Linked DNA regions of Homo sapiens: all the other regions are linked to region 2. Evidence: promoter capture Hi-C in 16 types of primary human blood cells and fetal thymus (Javierre and others, 2016). All regions are on one chromosome and are shown on one strand. Each heading gives the region's core, a stretch centred on a gene start or on the middle of the fragment in contact. The rest is flanking DNA. Distances are from core to core; before and after follow the strand shown.

Region 1 (3,899 bases), core at 261-2,760, 140 kb after region 2:
GTTGTCATTGCCTTAACAATTGTCATGACTTGTTAGTTATGCGAGGAGAAGTGATCATGGGGCCATTTGCCCTGAGCATCCAGCCTCCAGTGGTCCTTCTATTCTGGGGCTAGGATGTCTGGGTTCCAATCCTGCTCAGTAGCCACCATGACCACAGAGAAATTACTAATGCAAATAGAAATGTTGATAATATTTATCGCACAGAAGTGTTGTAATGATGAAATGTGAGAGAACATGAAAAGTGACAGAAAGCAGGCAGTACCTTCCCAAACATGTGGGCCTACCCTAGAGCAGGCTCTTTGGTAGTTAATGAAGATAAGACAGCAAATACAAAGGTCAAGTTGCTCCCTTTTTTGGAAGAGAAAATAAATGAGTATTTAAAAAATGATAGTTGATGAGTTCCCAATAAATATTAGCTTCTCTTATTTATTATATAACTATTATTCAAGTGAGCCCACTAAGCCCAGGAACTAGTGAGAAAACTCTCTTAGCAATAAGATGGACTGATGTATTAGGTATTTTCCCAAAACATGATTTTTTAGAGGGTAGACTTCTCTCAAGAGGAGAAGGAGCCAGTTTTGAAAATTCATGATTCAAGTACTAATTGCATTTCAATTTAAACAAGTTTAATTCAGTTTTGTTCATGTTTTACTTGGCCCAACAAATTATCCTAGTGAGCTGTCTGTCTGCCGAGGAGGTGGGTTTACAACCTGAAGAGTCAATTTGGAAACTGAACAGGAGCTGAGCTGAGCTACTCTCTGACTCTGACATTAGATGTCACTACAATCAAAGGAAAGCAGAGCGGGCAACCTAGCAGTGAAGTGAAACTTGAACATGGTAGAGGAAAGAGACATGTTTAGATTGTGGTGCAAAGTTCCTGGATAAGAACTTGTGATATGATTTGCCTATCCACCTTGCCATGGGGAAAAAGGAGAATTTTAATATATGTATGACAGCTGCATTCATTTTCCTAAGACATTGACTAGGAACAACTCCTAACCACTTTGCACATCTTGGTATTTCTTCCCCTAATAGATAATAGAACTGATAGAGGCCCCCAAGGATTTTCAGTGCAGAATATTCCTAATAGGTTCTAAACGAGAATTTTACTGGACCAGATCACTAAGTCTAGTTCTTCTAATGAGCTTAATGCTTAAAGCTTAAGTTGTCTTTCAAATATTCTTCAATTATAAACTTTATCAGGTGTTTCCAAAGTTTCTTTGCTTAAAGATGTGAAGAACCCCAGGTTACTGGTATTTGTGTGTTAAGAGTAGAATTACCAGGTACAGTCACATTTGTTTACTTAAGCAAAATATCTACAAACAGCTGGAGGGCAGGGGACCCAACTAATGTTTCCATTTATTGCTAGGCAACTGGGTGAACTGAAAAGTCCATCCTCCCAAGGGATATTATATTAAATATATCTTTTTATGTGTGTGAACTGGCACACACTATTGGAATAGATTCAGAATATCTAACAATTGATGCAGCATAGGTACCAATGAATTAAATCTAGCGATGGCTAGGGCTTCCAGGGGAAAATAAGGGTGCTCCATATGGGTGTAGGGAGGACCTGATGGGGAACAACTGCTGCAGTACCTATTTATCAACTCCTGAGGGAAGTACTTTGACATATTAATAACTGGGATGACTGTACCAGTATCTATTGGTTGAATATCAGCCTGTGTATATATAACTTGGCTTATCAAGAGCCCACAAGATCTCTGGTTTAGGTTCCAAGTACAAGTATCAAAGTTCATTCTCATTACCCTCTTGATAATGGTCTGGGCTGCTAATTTTTACATTGCTTTAGTGATGGGAAGGTCCCACATGGAGGGAAATTTTATGAAATATGCAGAGAGAAGCTTGGTCTTTACATGTCTACATCTTCTTTTTTCAAGCTGTGATGAAGGCCTTGATTCTGATGGGCATCAAGAGGCAGATACAGCTCAGAAGATTCAGAAAGGCAGACTCGTGTCTAACATAACTACATTACCTTGGTGATCCCAGGAATTAGTAGACTGATACTGGGGATAGGAGTGGGGTTCTCAGTATTGGTGACAAAGTTTGTTTTAAAGTGTCCTGATTTTTTTCCTTTGCTCTACATGAGAATTAATGCACCAGTTTGCAATATATGTAAACTGTTTCATGTAGATTTGTTGAAGAAGAAAGACTGGATTTCAAGGGCCTAAGAGCAGGCAGTTTTCATGTTCAAGGTGTTTTCACATCGTATGCAGTGCTTAGATTACTGAGCCCATAGTAGTTACCTAATTCTTATTTGATACTTGATTGATATTTTTGTTTTCTGTAGATTATTCTCATTGAGAAGAAACGGACCTATGACTGATTTCAGACCAGTGATTTTGGTAATGTTTTGAATTTACTGTAATTATTTAAGCTGTTCTTCTGAATACTTGTACCATTTTCTTGGTGATTCAGAACGAAACTTACAGCTAAATTATCTGGGTTATATTAATCTTTGCATGCATTAAAACTGCTGTTTTTATAATGGAAAGAAAGAGGACTACTACCTATGTATATCTCAATGTGTCTGTGCCACGCTGTTTTAATTATGCCAAGTGTTCACTGACAAAAGTGTGAATGGAGCATACAATTTAAAAATATGAACATGTTATTAATATTTGGCACTATAACTGTAACAATCACTGATTATCATCATGATTGGGGACCTTGTCTCACCAATACCAGAGACATATTGATGTCACGATGAACTGTATTTTTCTACTATTATGTGAAATTACTTTCTTTTAATTCCACTATTTCTCATTGTTTGGCCACTTTTACTTAGGGGTTTTCTCTCTATTTCATTGTTACATGTATTTTTTTTTGTTCAAATGTCTTAAAAATTCCAATTCTTAAGGTTGATTCCATTGTACATCTTTGAATTTCACAGTGTATAGTTAGATTGTAGTCTTGTCAAGATGAGAAATTACCATGATGCCATGATAGCTTCTAACAATGCTACTGTTTCAGAAGTCAGGATCCAAGGTCTCATAGACCAAATTAAGACCTCAAACTATGTGGCTTATTGAGTCAGAACACAGTGAGAAGCAAAGGACAAAGAGTAATGTAACTTGGATGGGATGCAAATGAGAAGGAGGGACTACAATACTTAAATCTAGAGCTGCATACTATCCATATATCCTGCCCCTTTCCACTTCATTAGTATTCCCTGTTAATGGTAGGCAAATGATGACTGAGTGCACATGGGAAAGGAGGCTCGGCAGAAAGAAGGTGCTCAAAGTCACCTTGGTATATCTGAGAGACCACAGGGCAAAATGACCAGTAGCTATTTTTATATAGCAATGACTTTTGTCTGTATGGGGCAGAAAACATGAGGAGCCAGAATGAGTGTCAACAACAGGTGACTGACTTAACTATGATGTTACTGAAGGTGGCATGATTTGAATCTAGAAAAATATACAAATATATATATATATACACACACACTTACACATATATACTTTTACATCTTTAATGATATTTAATTTGAATAAAATGCATTCATTTAAAATTACATTTCTAAGACTTTTGAAGAAAGTCTTATGTAACTTCTAGCACAATTAAGATACAGAATATTTTCATCAGTTTCCAAAATTTCCTTGTGCCACTTTGTAGTCAATGGCCCACCCTAAACCCTAGACAACCACTATTCTTTCTGTCTGTATAGATTAATTTTGTCTTTTCTAAATAAAATTATATAGAATGCGGTCTTTCGTGTTTAGCTTCTTATGCTAACCACATTTTTGAGATTCATCCATGTTATGTCTTGTATTGGTAGTTCATTCCTTGTTATTGCCGAGTGTTATTCCACTATATAAACAGATCTCAATTTCTTTAGCCACTCACCTATTTTTTTTCTGATTTTTTTCTTTTCT
Region 2 (3,893 bases), core at 808-3,307:
TGCCCGCTACCACGCCTGGCTAATTTTTGTAGTTTTAGTAGAGACGGGGTTTCACCATGTTGGTCAGTCTGGTCTCAAACTCCTGACCTCAGGTGATCCACTACCCTCGGCCTCCCAAAGTGCTGGGATTACAGGTGTGAGCCACCGCACCCAGCCGGTTTCCTTTAACTTTGTCCACACTTTTGAAAATAGTCCCTTTTTGAAATTCTTCTCAGTTATGCTATTTGAACGAGTCATCTCCTTTTTGCTGGGACCCTGACTGATAGGTGGTACTTCTCTGGGAAAACAAAGTGATTCAGCCTATAGGGAGATAGTGAAGATATTATGCAGAAGCCAAAGAGAGAGTTGCAATAGTTGGTTGAGTGATAGTTGAAGTGGTACTAATGTTGGTGACACCCAGGAATGGGAAGAGAATGAATAGATTTCCCTGCCAATGCCTCATCTTTTGTAAACCTCTGGCTATTAAAAAGGAAAGTTGAGCATCATCAAAGCATTGTTTGTGTTTGAGGATCATTTTCCAGGTTAGTTTTTGAAATATTTCTAGCTGTATATAAAAGGTTAATGTGGAATAGAAAGCCTAACAAATTAATGAGGTCTTGTTGGTATGGTGGGGTCAGGGGAGGGAAGGAGAGGCTGGAAGAGGGAGCAGAGAATTCTAAGAAGACGAATTATTTTAATCAGCTGCAATGTTTAATTTAATTTAATACAATTTAGCATTTGCAATTACATAATTTACTCCGTATGAACCTTTAGGTTAGATATAGTATTGTAAACTTGCAAATCTCTTTATAAAACCTTTTTCTTTGGTAGAAACTACTATGAAGTAAATAAACCTTTATTGCCTTCGCTTAGTGCCTGGAACACAGTAGGCCTTTACAAAATGTCAGATCTATGAATACTAGCTGACATTTATTGAGGCCTTCCCCTGTGCCAGCCACTATGCAAAAAGTGCTTGACATACTTCTAAAATCTCAATTTATAGGTGAGGAATTAAGGATACAAGATGCATTTCTATAGTAGAGAAGCAGTAAACTGATAATGAATTAATTGAGGTGAAGTCTGAGTTATTTGAAGATTTTCAGTTATTTTTGTGAAAAAATAAGTTTATTGAAATTCACGACCAGAACACAAAAATAATCTCTCTTGATTTTCTTTTTAAAATTTTTTAAAAAACTTTTGTTGACACGTAGCAGATGTATATATTTACGGGGTACATGAGATGTTTTGATACAGGCATGCAATGTGAAATAAGCACATCACGGAGAATAGGGTATCCATCCTCTGAAACATTTATCCTTTGAGTTACAAACAATCCAATTACATTCTTTAAGTTATTTTAAAATACACAATTAAGTTCTTATTAACGATTGTCACTTTATTGTGCTATCAAATAGTAGGTCTTATTCATTCTTTCTATTTTTTTGGACCTATTAACCATCCCCACCTTCTCCCGCTCTTGATTTTCCTTTGCATGCATGTATTCATAAAGTTTATTAGTATTTTGCAAATCTTTGTAGGATAAGTCTGACCTGTCCAGGTCACAATTATAGGGCACATATCTTATTTTCTGAGAGAAGCAGGGATTTTATTTTATTTTTTATTGTTTCACTTATTTTCTCCCTTTCATTTGCCTCTACTTCGTTCTCTTTTAAATCTTTCACATGTTTTCATTCATTACTTGCTTCCTGCCTTCCTTCCCTCAAACAAGGCCAGGTGCTTAGTTTTGAAATCTCATTCAAAATGGTGCCACGTCATCTGCCAGGGCCAAGAATCCAGAGGTGCTGTCATATTTCTCCTTGCCAGCGTGGATCTCCTCCGAGCCCCGCCCTCCCTCCTCACCTGCTCCTGGGGAAACTACACCAAGGCCGCCGCTCTGGCCTGGGGCTCCCTCCCACACGGCCTTGGCCCTCTCCCCCTCGCCCCGGGACCGCTCCGCCCCTCCCGGATCCCGGTCGGCGGAGCGCATTTATTTGCATATTTCTACCTTTGTTCCCTGCCAGCGGCCAATCAGCGCGCGGGGCGAGACGAAGGGGCTGGGCGGGGCTCGGGCTCCTGCTCCGGCTCAGCTGCGGCGGCCGCAGGTTCCAAAGCGGGTCCGAGCCGCCGCCGCGCGCGCGCCGCGCACTGCAGCCCCAGGCCCCGGCCCCCCACCCACGTCTGCGTTGCTGCCCCGCCTGGGCCAGGCCCCAAAGGCAAGGACAAAGCAGCTGTCAGGGAACCTCCGCCGGAGTCGAATTTACGTGCAGCTGCCGGCAACCACAGGTTCCAAGATGGTTTGCGGGGGCTTCGCGTGTTCCAAGAACTGCCTGTGCGCCCTCAACCTGCTTTACACCGTGAGTATCCCCAGTCCGTTCCTGCTCGCTTGGGGGCTTTGCACCTGCTTGGGAGCTCTTTGGCTTCCCTGCCTGGTCAGCGACTCACTCGTTGCATCCCGCGCCCCCTTCCCGGCTTCCCACGTCTGCGCGCCCCCGGCCTCACCATCCGTCCCCGCCGGGGACCGGGCGCCGGCGCTTGTCGCAGTCTCTTCCTTTCGTTCATTGTGAAGCCGCGGTCTCTCAGGCTCGCTGGCCGCGTCTCTGCCACATTGCTCCACCCCGCCCCCTCACCCACCGCCTTGTTTTTCAAACATTCAACCGGACCTCTCCGCTTTCCCACCCCGTACCCTTCTGCCGCTCGCTCCTGACATCCAGACGCATCTGGGCCAGGCGTGGAGGCGCGAGAGCCGTCAGGGCTTGCGGACAGTTTTGCGGAATGGCGTGGCCTGAAACTGACGAGGCGGCATATGGCTGGTGTGCCTCTGGGTTAGCTCTTGGTACCCTCGGGATTTTAATTGAGGCCACTGAGTAGGTTCACAGGATGTCCGCTGCTTCCGAAGTTTGTTTCGTGCTCACAGTAAAGGGATGTCTTTTTGTTTTTGTTGTTGTCAGTTTTGCTAGTACTTGGTGCTTTTTCTGTGTGTCTTGTCCATGATCAATATCCTAACTCCATTTTAAACCAAGTCCTCCAGGAAATAAGCGAGCCCCCACCCAAGTCGTTTCTTTCCCTGCCAACCAGCTTGGGCCTCTTAGTTTTAACGCTGCAGGCTCTCTTTGTGATTTTTTGAGGCGCAATTCTGGGTGAACAGGAGGATGGGCAGGACAGATCGACATTTATTGAATGCCTATCACGTCCCAGGTTTTACATACACAATGCTCGTTCATCATTCTGACAACCTTCTGAGGGAATGGGGCATTATCTGCATTTTATACATAAGGTAACAGACCAAAAAGGTTTTAGTAAGTTTACATAGCTGGTAGTTGACGAGTCAGGAGTGGAACCTAGGCTGTGGAATCCAGATCTTTCCACAGGCTGTCTCTACCGGGCGGAAGAAACTTCCTCTTCTGTCATCATCCCTCCATAGTAGTCTTGCTCCCTTCTATAAATATACCTGGCGCTTTGCAGCACCCACCCTGAAAACAAACCCAGCACCCCTGCATTAGCAGAGAGCTAGGCCATCTGTGCAAGCTTAGATTACCTCCTTGGAATAGAGAGGCTGCCTTGTGGTCACCAACAGGAGAAGGAGGTTGGGTCATTTTACCTTTACTGTTCCTTTGTATGTGAACATGACTGCAAGCTTTGAAGGCAAGACAGAAACAGGCATTGAGTACGCTTTTATGGCTAGTTAGTAAGAATCTGGTCAACATGGTCATTAATAGTAGACTTGGGAAAAAAATTTTAGAACACCTGGTGATACAGTTCCTTGGAGATACATGTCAAGTTTCAGATCAAAATTCATCTGTATCACCCTGAGGTATGCTTATCACCCTGGCTGTTTATTAAGTAAATGCTGACCAGTTCTCTAGGGTTTTTTTTTTTTTTTTTAAATCAGTGTGAGTGGCCTGCTTGGAACTTTA
Region 3 (4,253 bases), core at 388-2,887, 180 kb after region 2:
TTTACCAAGGACTTGGTACAATGTCCATACCTCCATCTTTATTTTTTTTCCCCTTAGTTTTTCAAATCTCTCAAATTGATTTGATATAAGTAATAAGTTCAGTCACTAGACATCTGTTGAACATCAAACATTTTCCTTTTCATCTTAAAGATATCTTGGCAAGTAAAATATACTTTTCTCTATCAACATTTTAAGGGATACCGCTAGCACCAAACAGATACCATTTCCTTTTACTCTGCAAAGACTGATGGAAGAATAAGAAGACACTTTCTTTGCCCCCTAGAACCTTCAGATCTATTGGTGGGCATTCAGATACCCACAAAAAGAGAGTTAAACATGTTAAGTGGAACACTGAAGGAGCTGAAGAGTCAAAAGAGGAAGTAGGTGCTAAATAGTTCAGAAAAGGAAGCAGTTCACTGGTTCTATTGACCACAGTTTGCCATTCTTGAACAGGGTTGCCAACGTCTAGTGTTTGTATTTTGTTGTCTGACTCTACAAGTTCCAGAACTTCTTTTATAAATGATGTATGGGCATACCTTGGAGATACTGAAGCTTCAGGTCCAGACCAGTGCAATAAGGAAATATAAAAAGTCAGTCACATGAATGTTTTGGCTTCCCAGTGCATATTGTATACACTATATTGTAGTATACTATGACTTCCTCCACTGAAGTCTTGAACCCCTCAAAGGTCATCCATCAAAGTTAGAATCAACTTCTTTCACACTCTTGTTAATGCTGATATTTTGACCTTCTCCCATGAATCATGAATATTCTTAAAGGTGTGAAAATAAAATAAAATATTGGGATGCCATACTCACTATGCCAAAAGGAAAAGTTAAGCTTAGAAACTGAGTCTCCAAAAAAACTGCCTTTCCTTTTGTTCCTGAACCTGCAAGATAGAAGATCACATATCTTCCCAGGTGGCCTTCCTCAGCCTGACAAGGTAAATTAACAGCTTATCTTCACAGGTATGGAACAAAGACAGGTATAGGACAAAGACATATTTGACAGCTTGGCTTCCTTTACTGTTTATTTTTATGTTGTGTAAAATGCCGACTTACTGATGCATAAGACAAATGTTTAATTGACTGCTCCTCTCCCTCCTCCTTTCACATGTAACATGTGGATTCGGTAAACACTTATCAAAGCCTCACAACAATGTGACCGCTTACCTCACTTTATACCCTCCCTTTTTTTTTCTTTCTTCCTTCCCCTTCTGCCTGCTCTTTCCCCTTTAAATATTGAAACCCTCAAAATCCTCTTTATAAAAAGTGTGAACCACAGATCCTATTGTGATTTTGTGTCTTCTCCCAGGTATGTCCTCAACCTTAGCAAAATAAACTTCTAAATTAATTGAGACCTATCTCAGACACTTTGTTTTACAAAGCCATCTAGCATGCTGAATCCTTTCCAGAAGGTGTTCAATTTACTTTGCCCAGATCCTCAGAGAACTCACTATCTATCGAGCTACAGGCTTACAAAATGTATTTCTTAAATAAAACTTGAAAATCAAATGATTCTCTGACGTATGGGCTACAGATAGGATGTTGTGTTTGCAGGCATGAAAACAACATTAACCTCCTCGTGTATCTCCATTAGAGCTCCTGGATAATCAGGTGCATTGTCAACAAGCAGTAATATTTTGAAAAGAATCATCTTTTTCTGAGTGGTAGCTCTCAACAGTGGATTTGAAATATTCAGTAAACCATGTTGTAAACAGATGTGTTGTCATCCAGGCTTTATTTTTCCATTTGTCGGGCACAGGCCGAGTAGATTCGGTATAATTCCCAAGGACTCTAGGATTTTCAGCAGCACAGATGAGCATTGACTTCAAGTCATCAGCTGCTTTCCCTCCTAATAAGAGAGTTGGCCTGTCCTTTGAGGGTTTGAAGCCAGGCATTGACTTCTCTCTAGCTATGAAAGTCCTAGATGACATCTTTTTCCAATATATGGCTGTTTTGTCTGCACTGAAAAACTGTTGTTTAGTGTAGCCACCTTCATCAATTAACCTATCTAGATATACATAACTCGCTGCAGCTTCTCCATCAGCACTTGCTGTTTCACCTTGCTTTTTTATGTTGTGGAAATGGCTTCCTCTCCTTAAAATCTCATGAACCAACATCTGCTAGCTTCAAACTTTGCTTCTGCAGCTGCCTCATCTCTTCGCCTTCACGGAATTGAAGAGTGTTAGGGCCTTGCTCTAGATTAGGCTTTGGCTTAAGAGAATATTGTGGCTGGTTTGATCTTCTATCCACACCACTCAAACTTTCTGCATATCAGCAATAAGGCTGTTTCACTTTCTTATCATTTGTAGATTCACTGAAGTAGCACTTTTAATCTCTTTGAAGAACTTTTCCTTTGCATTCACAACCTGGCTAATGATGCAAAAGGCCTACCTTTCGGCCTATCTTGGTTTTTGATATGCCTTCCTCACTAAGCTTAATGATTTGTAACTTTTGGTTTAAAGTGAGAGATGTGGGACTCTTCCTTCATTTGAATACTCAGAGGTCATTGTAGGGTTATTAATTGGCCTAATTTCAATGTTGTGGTGGCTTGGGGAATAGGGAGGGCCAAAGAGGGCAGAAAGACAGGGAAGTGGCGGTTCAGTAGAACAGTCAGAACACAAGCAATATTTGTTAAGTTTGCTGTCTTATATGGGTGTAGTTTGTGGTGCCCTAAAACAATTACAATAGTAATATGAAGTATTGATCACAGGTCACCATCACAGTTAATAATAACAATAATAAAAGTTTGAAATATTTTGAGAGTTACCAAAATGTAACACAGGGACACAAAGTGAACACCTGCTGTTGGAAAAATGGCACTGATATCCTTGCTCATGTAGAGTTGCCACGTATCTTCAATTTGTAAGAAAACACAGTAGCTTCAGAGCACAATAAAGCAAAGTGCAATAAAACAAGTTATGCCTGTAGTATTACTTTCTTAACTTGCTCTTTAAATACTTTGAAGAATTAATGCCTTTACTATATTTGTTGCTTATGGCATTTTGATTCTTCAGGCTAGTCAAGATCTTTCACCTGAACTATATCCTCTCTTCCGAATATTCTTTCCCAGCATGATGTTCCTATTTGATTCTCACTGTCAGACATAGCTGATATGGCATAGAAACCTCTTTCCGGTTTTTTTCTACCTTTTACCTTCTCTTTTACCTTCATTCCAAGCCCACTGTTGTAGTCCTAAAGGTGCCTTTCCTTCTCCTTTCCTCATTTGAGTATTTTATTTCTGAATCCCATCCTTTATTTTTTCCTAAAAATCTTGATCTAACTGACGTAACTTATTTTACTCTTACTAGAAAGAAACATCATTAAACCCTGTAACTACTAAGAAAGACAAAATTGATTCCTCTTGGAAGTCAATGCATGAAGAAGGAGAAGAAAAGTTTTTGGTGTTTATTTTTATTCTTCAAAAAAACCCCTTGGATTCTTATAGGAATCTCAGTTTTCTGATTGTGACAACATTTTCCAGATCCTTGATATGTATCTTGCACAAGATTTAGAATTTTTTTTTAAAGAACTAGTCAGTAATATGAAAGAAGCAAACATTTTTTACATAAAATTAAAATATTTTCAAAATTTAACTGTATTATGTATACTTAAGATTTAAATAGTAGTATTAACATTTTTAGGCATAGGTTGAGATAGCAAATGAATTAGTTTACTTCTTTAGTTGAGTTTACTTTTCAACATTAGAAATGATCAACATTTCTGGGTTTATAAGTTGGTTATGATTATAAATGCTTGAAACAATATGAAGAATATAATTTATTTTTTATTTAAATAGTACCATTCAGTGCAGAGTGCTTTGAGTGGTTTAGGCCTGTTTGCTTTTAGAGAGAACTTTGCATTTCTCCTGGTATTCTTTGCAGCTGCTTCACTCTTACTAGTGAGAGGATATTTTCAGGCTGAGCTGAATGAACATCTTTTCTTTTTTTTTTTTTTTCCCTGTGTCTTCCAGGCTGGAATGTAGTAGTGCAATCATGGCTCATTGCAGCCTTAATCTCCCGGGCTCAAGTGATCTTCCCACCTCAGCCTCCCAAGTGGCTGGGTCCACAAGTGCATGCCACCACACCCAGCTAATTAATTATTTTATTTTATTTTATTTTTTGGTAGAGACAGGGCTTCTCTATATTGCCCAGGCTGGTTTCGAACTCCTAGGCTCAAGCAATCCTCCTGCCTCACCCTCCCAAAGTGCTGGGATTACAAGTGTGAGCCACTGCACCCAGCCTGAGTGAA

The links. The method cuts DNA at HindIII sites, captures the fragments that hold promoters and counts their contacts. A CHiCAGO score of 5 or more calls a contact.
Region 1: a contact is called between a fragment that was not itself captured here and the fragment with the promoter of TSPAN13 in region 2, in 1 of 17 cell types (naive B cells). The highest score is 6.7, in naive B cells.
Region 3: a fragment that was not itself captured here is called in contact with the fragment with the promoter of TSPAN13 in region 2 in 1 of 17 cell types (total B cells); the score reaches 5.1 in total B cells.

The regions. Positions count from the first base shown.
Region 1 is chr7:16,890,752-16,894,650 of GRCh38, forward strand. No RefSeq gene overlaps it. Among named protein-coding and RNA genes, the nearest start is that of AGR3, 11 kb to the left of the region's middle. RefSeq lists a silencer at 614-908. The HindIII fragment of the contact is 706 bases long and covers 1,158-1,863 here.
Region 2 is chr7:16,751,698-16,755,590 of GRCh38, forward strand. TSPAN13 (tetraspanin 13) reads left to right here and starts at 2,058. Exons shown (of 6, transcript NM_014399.4): 1 at 2,058-2,333. The coding sequence starts at 2,271. The HindIII fragment of the contact is 13,671 bases long and covers 1-3,502 here.
Region 3 is chr7:16,928,941-16,933,193 of GRCh38, forward strand. No RefSeq gene overlaps it. Among named protein-coding and RNA genes, the nearest start is that of AGR3, 49 kb to the left of the region's middle. RefSeq lists an enhancer at 464-513. The HindIII fragment of the contact is 1,598 bases long and covers 839-2,436 here.